Linked DNA regions of Homo sapiens: region 1 is linked to region 2. Evidence: promoter capture Hi-C in 16 types of primary human blood cells and fetal thymus (Javierre and others, 2016). All regions are on one chromosome and are shown on one strand. The core of a region is centred on a gene start or on the middle of the fragment in contact, and the rest is flanking DNA. Distances in the headings are between cores, read along the strand shown. Region 1 has its middle 23 kb from the start of PTGES. Region 2 holds the start of IER5L (immediate early response 5 like).

Region 1 (2,807 bases), core at 38-2,537, 600 kb after region 2:
AAGAAAAGAAAGAGAGAAAGAGAGACAGAGAGAAAGAAAGAAAGGAAGAAAAAAGAAAGAAAGAAAGAAACAAAGAAACAAACAAACAAAGAAGGAAGGAAAGAAACAAAGAAAGAAAGAAACCAACAAAGAAAGAAAGAAAGAAGGAAGGAAGGAAAGAAAGAAAGAAACAAAGAAAGAAAGAAAGAAAGAAAGAAAGAAAGAAAGAAAGAAAGGAAGGAAGGAAGGGGAGAGAGAAGGAAGGGAGGGAGGGAGGGAGGGAGGGAGGAAGGAAGAAAGGGAGGGAAGGATGGGTTTGTCTCTCAACGTAAGAACCAAAATGAAGACATGTGTGTCTACCAGGTGAGGAGAGAAGTACGGAGAAGAAAGGGGAGGGTTGGTGGGTCCCCCAGGAGCCTGGTTGGCTGGTTGGAAACCAGAGGGTGTACTGGACAAGGCCCAGAATGCGGACCTGCCTGGGCCCCAATAAGGGGTCCCTCCCCATCCACAGGTAGACGCATCGCCCCGAGGTAGACACATGTCCCCTAGGGAAGAAGCCTTCGGCTACTCCTCACGTGCAAGTCACATGCTCCTCTCCCTGCTGGCACCACCATGGCCACAGCTGATGGGCAGGGGTGAGCACCTGGCTGCAAGCAGCCAATGGCGAGGCCAGCCAGCAGCCAATGAAATCAACAGCCCGATGTGGGCCTGGGCTGAGACCCACCCCCCAGAGGAGGCTGGGCTCGTGGCCAAGGACTCGGCTGCCAGCAGCAGGAGCGGCCACAAGAATGTGTACCCCTGGGGATGACAAGAAGCCCCTACAGTGAAATCCACTTCGGCTCTTCACGGGCCCTGGGGTCTTCACCTGGGTCCTGTGCCCACGAGGTCTTGGGCCCCAGCATCCTCACAGTAAACCCCTTTATCCCGGGGTCCTCAGTGCACGTCTGGCCCAGCAACGGCAATGAAACCAACAAACTGCCACACACTAGAGCTGGGTCCTGCGGCTCTGCCACCTGCTCTGTCAAACGCTGGGGTCCCCAGAAGCCACGGCCCCTGCCAAAGGTCATTTTGGGTCTCATTTGTCATCTGGGTACTTAGGGTAAAACGATATTTTCTGTGCAAGCCCCTCATTGCTTCCCTGTCTCTCCCATCCCCTAACTCCACCACCATGAAGGCCTCCCTGCTCTCACCCACTCCAAGAGCTGGATTTTCCCTGGCACAGAGAGCATAGCACCGACCCAGACAAGCCCTTTGCCACATGCGTCCTGCCAGGCATGATTCTGGCCACAAGGATGCATCAACTGCCACTGGAGCTGTGGGTGTGTTGTCACTGTGAAGCACATTGCAGCAGCAGCTGAGAGGAGAGACCAACCAGCACCCTGGGGAGGGGGCTGCATGCAGAGGTTGGGAAGTCACACTTTGGCTTCAAGCCAAGCAGAAGATCTGGCCCAAGAAAACAGGCTCATACCTCCTGGACAGGGTGGCCAAGAGACAGAGCTTCAGCTCAGGCTGGGACGCCAGTTGGGCAATAAAATTAATGACAATAATTATTATTATATAACAATGTTGATGACATTACTGGCCAACTTTACCTGCCAGACACTATGCTTGGTGCTTTATGTAGATCAGTTCATTGCCCTCATGTAGCAATCCTAGGAGGTGGGTCTATTATTATCTCTATTTTATTTTATTTTATTTTATATTTTTTAGAGGCAGAGTCTTGCTCTGTCACCCAGGCTGGAGTGCAATGGTGTGATCTTGGCTCACTGCAACCTCTGGCTCCCAGTCTCAAGCAATTCTCCTGCCTCAGCCTCCCGAGTAGCTGGGACTTCAGGTGCGTGCCACCACACCTGGCTAATTTTTTTTGTATTTTTTAGTAGAGACAGGGTTTCACCATGTTTGCCAGGCTGGTTTTGAACTCCTGACCTCAGGTGATCCACCTGCCTTGGCCTCCCAAAGTGCTGGGATTACAGGCATGAGCTACCTCGCCCGGCCTAATATCCCCATTTTAGAGATGAGAAAATTGAGGTTCAGAGGAGTGACATGACTTAACCAATGTCTGTGCTAAACTACAGTAAGATAGATAGATAGATAGATAGATAGATAGATAGATAGATAGATAGATAGATAGATAGATACCTATGTCTAACTACCTACCTACCTACCTATTGACCTATCTACCTACCTACCAACCTGCCTATCTCTCTATCTATGTGATATATATGAAAAAGACTCTTCAGAGAACTGACTCTGCTGATGCCCAGAATAGGGTGCGGGAGACTCATCAAGCTGATCTCCCATGCTGGGCCCAGCTGGATGTTCTGACTTTACCCAGAGTATCCAGATTTCAATTAACTATCTCGGAACCACAGTAAAGGAGCGTGTGCGCTATAGTTGATTGCTCAGCCCGAGCACAGGGCTGGGTAATCTTACTCCCAGAGGGTTCTGAGGTTGGAGCCTGGAATGGACCAGCTCTCTCCCTTGCCATTCAGCCCCACCCCCACCCCTGGAGCCAGGGACTCAAGCAGCCCAGCTTGACAGTCCTGGGAGGCCTGACCCCCGGCTGGGATCTCGTCATCAGCAATGCACCCAGGCTCTGGGGACAGCATGGTCTAGGGCCTCTGAATTGGCCATTATCCTAGCGGGAAGAAATGCTTCTCCCTCCAGGCTGAAAGCTGTCTTTGCTCCCAGTGATCACTTGCTCCCCAGCTCTGCACAGATTGACCCGCACACCTAGGCAGGCAAACACAGCAGTCCTAAGACCAAGAGCCAGGGTGAGGCCCTGGCAGAACAGCCATTGGAATGGGATGCCGGAGTGTCCCCAGATG
Region 2 (2,700 bases), core at 175-2,674:
CCTAGAAGGCGACAATGGCTCGAGTCCAGGCGCCGAGGCTGGCGAGCGCCTGCTTGGCGCACAGCTGCCCGTTGAGCGGCGGCGGCTGCTCCGAGGAGTCCGGCTGTCGGCTCACCAGCCCCGAGAAGCCGGAGCCAAAGATGGAGATCAAGTTTGAGATGTTGGACGCGTCCGGGGACGAGTCCGGGCAGAAGTCCTCGAAGCGGGCGCGCTTGCAGGGGGCGAACGGGGCGCCCCCGGGGGGCTCGGCCCCCAGCCCGCCCGCATCCTCCTCGTCGTCTTCCTCCTCCTCCTGGCCAGGGTAATACTTGCGCTTGCAGCCGGCGGCGGACGCCAGGCCCGGTCCCGGAGCGCCCTGGCCACAGCAGGGGCAGTGGGCGGAGGCGCAGCAGTCCTGGTGCAAGTAGCCGTTCTCCACCGTGGTCACCACGTGAGTGTCTAGGTCCAGCACGGTGGTCTGGCTGCTGCAGTGCAAGCCGAAGTCCGAAGGGGTAGGGTATGCGCCCCGGTAGAAGCCGGGGGAGGAGGCGGGGGCCGGGGAGGCGGGCGGAGAAGCGGCGGCGGCCGGAGGGGCGGCCCCTGGGGGCGCGGAGCAGGCGGCCGGGGCGCGAGGGTCCCGCGGGCAGAGCGCAGCGGGCGCGGGCGGCGGCAGCGGCAGCGGCAGCGGCGCAGGACCCGGCTGCAGAGGCTCCAAGGGCTGCCCGCGGTGGGGCGCGCCGTGCGGCGGCTGGAGCGCGGCGCACCCGGGCAGCTCCGAGAGCGCCCCCGCGCCGCCCGCGGGCGCTCCGGCCGCCGCCGCCGCCGCGCAGCCCCTGGGCGCCGGGTGCTGGTGCTGGTGCAGCTGCTGCTGGAGGTGCAGCTGGTGGAGCTGGTGGAGCTGGTGCAGCTGGTGCCGGGCGGCCGGCTCGCGCGCCTCCGCGTCCCCGCCGCCGCCAAGTTGGAGCGGGCCGAAGTCGGCCGCGCTGGCCGGCATGCCCGGCGCCGCGTACGCTAGGTGCTGGTGCTGGTGGTGGGGCGGCTGCTGCTGTTGCTGCTGCTGCTGGCGCCGGTAGAGCTCGGCGTAGCGCTCGCTCAGGTAGAGCTGGCGCGCGTTGCGGAGCACGTAGGACACCAGGAGGTTCTTGTGCAGCTTGATGCCGCCGCGCTGGGTTCGGGAGCTGTGGATCTTGCGCAGGGAGATGCTGATCAGGCTCTGGGCGTCCAGGGCGCACTCCATGCTCCCGCGGAGACGGCGGCGGAGCAGCCGCCGCCGCTGCTGCTGTTAACGCTTCTGCTGTTTCTGCCTCCAGCCGGCCGCCGGGGCGCGCCGGGCAGGGGTAACGGAGTCCGGGTCAGAGGTTCGGCTGCGCTCCGAAAGGAGCCGCCACCATGCGCCGCGCGCCACCCGCGGGCTCGCGCTCCCCAGACGGCGCCAAAGCAATGAGTCTCGGCCGGCCCCGGCCCCAGCTATTTAGCCGGGTGCCCGGGCCCCGCCCCACATGAGAAGAGCCAATAGGAGCTCTGAGAGTCTCCTGAGTGACAGGCGCAGCCCGCCCCGGGGCTACTCGGCTGGCCAATCAGACCAAGGCGGTTCCTTTGTGCTATTCAAATACCGAACGGACCCCGGGCCTCCAACGCCGCTGCTGCCTCGAATGTTCTCCTGGGGCTGCCGCGCCGCGCGGGACTCGGAGCCGCCGGGGCCGCAGTCTGCAGCATAGGTCGCCTGGCAGCGGCCACGTTGAAGCCCGCGGCTGCCCTCGCCTTAGGTCCCGGGAGCCGGGGGTCGGCTCACCTGAGTGCTGCGGCGACGGCTCCTCCCCTTTCCGCACGGCTGGGCCTCACCTGCGGCAGGTGCGCGCCGCTCATCGCTCCCCCAGCGGCGCGGCGCCTCCACCTGCGCACCTGTCGCCCCCCCGAGTGACCCGCGGGAGTCAAGGCCTCTCTACAGGAGGCTGGTGGAGCCGCCGGCTTGACACTGGGGAACATCAAAGGAGCGAGGTTTTGGGGGTACCCTCTACCGCAGAGAATGTAGGGCCTGACTCCTTGACTTTTTGGTCGAGGGGCCTCTGGGAATGCTTGCGGAAGGGAAGTCCTCCCCATTTGTCTGACAGGAAAAACCAAAACATCGTGAATTTTGACCTTCTCTGATGGAGAGAGTTCCGAGGCCAGGCATGACCCAGGGAGTGTGTGGACCTCGCGACCAGCTGAGGCTCAAAAGCGTCCTGGGAGCCGAAACGCTGAGTGCCCTAATCACCAGCTCTGTAACCTTTCCTTTCGTGCCTAACTAATAATAATGACAATAGGGACTATTATTATGGGCCTAATATGGGGCAGGCCCTTCCCAGCAACTCCCCAATGCCTCACTCTAACGTTTGTAGAGGAGGGGCCTGAGGCTCGGAGGAGTGGAGTGACTTGGGGAACCACACAGTTCCCAGGGGGCGGAGCTAGGAGCTGGGACAGGACCCTGCGCTCGAGACGGGAGGTGAATACCAAAGGCCCGGGGACTCACCGACTTAACTTCTGTTGACACAGCTTTCCTTCTTATCCTGAACCCTTCAGGTCCCAGCTGGGGACTGAGACAGTGGGAGAAGAGAGGGACAGGATTGCTGATTCCTGGGGGCGCTCTATCTGGACCAAGAGGCCTGAAGGGGGCTGGTTGCTGCTCCCAGGGGTTTCAAAGGTGCCTGGGGTGGGGGCTGCCCAGACAGCTCTGGAGGCTCT

What was found. The method cuts DNA at HindIII sites, captures the fragments that hold promoters and counts their contacts. A CHiCAGO score of 5 or more calls a contact.
Region 1: a fragment that was not itself captured here is called in contact with the fragment with the promoter of IER5L in region 2 in 1 of 17 cell types (M0 macrophages); the score reaches 5.0 in M0 macrophages.

What each region holds. Positions count from the first base shown.
Region 1 is chr9:129,774,314-129,777,120 of GRCh38, forward strand. No RefSeq gene overlaps it. Among named protein-coding and RNA genes, the nearest start is that of PTGES, 23 kb to the left of the region's middle. RefSeq lists enhancers at 753-1,319, 2,711-2,807. The HindIII fragment of the contact is 3,905 bases long and covers 1-2,807 here.
Region 2 is chr9:129,176,837-129,179,536 of GRCh38, forward strand. It overlaps IER5L (immediate early response 5 like), which reads right to left and starts at 1,425. Exons shown (of 1, transcript NM_203434.3): 1 at 1-1,425. The coding sequence starts at 1,216. The coding sequence ends at 2. RefSeq lists silencers at 680-1,019, 1,250-1,629 and enhancers at 1,354-1,648, 1,386-2,309, 2,310-2,700. The HindIII fragment of the contact is 12,631 bases long and covers 1-2,700 here.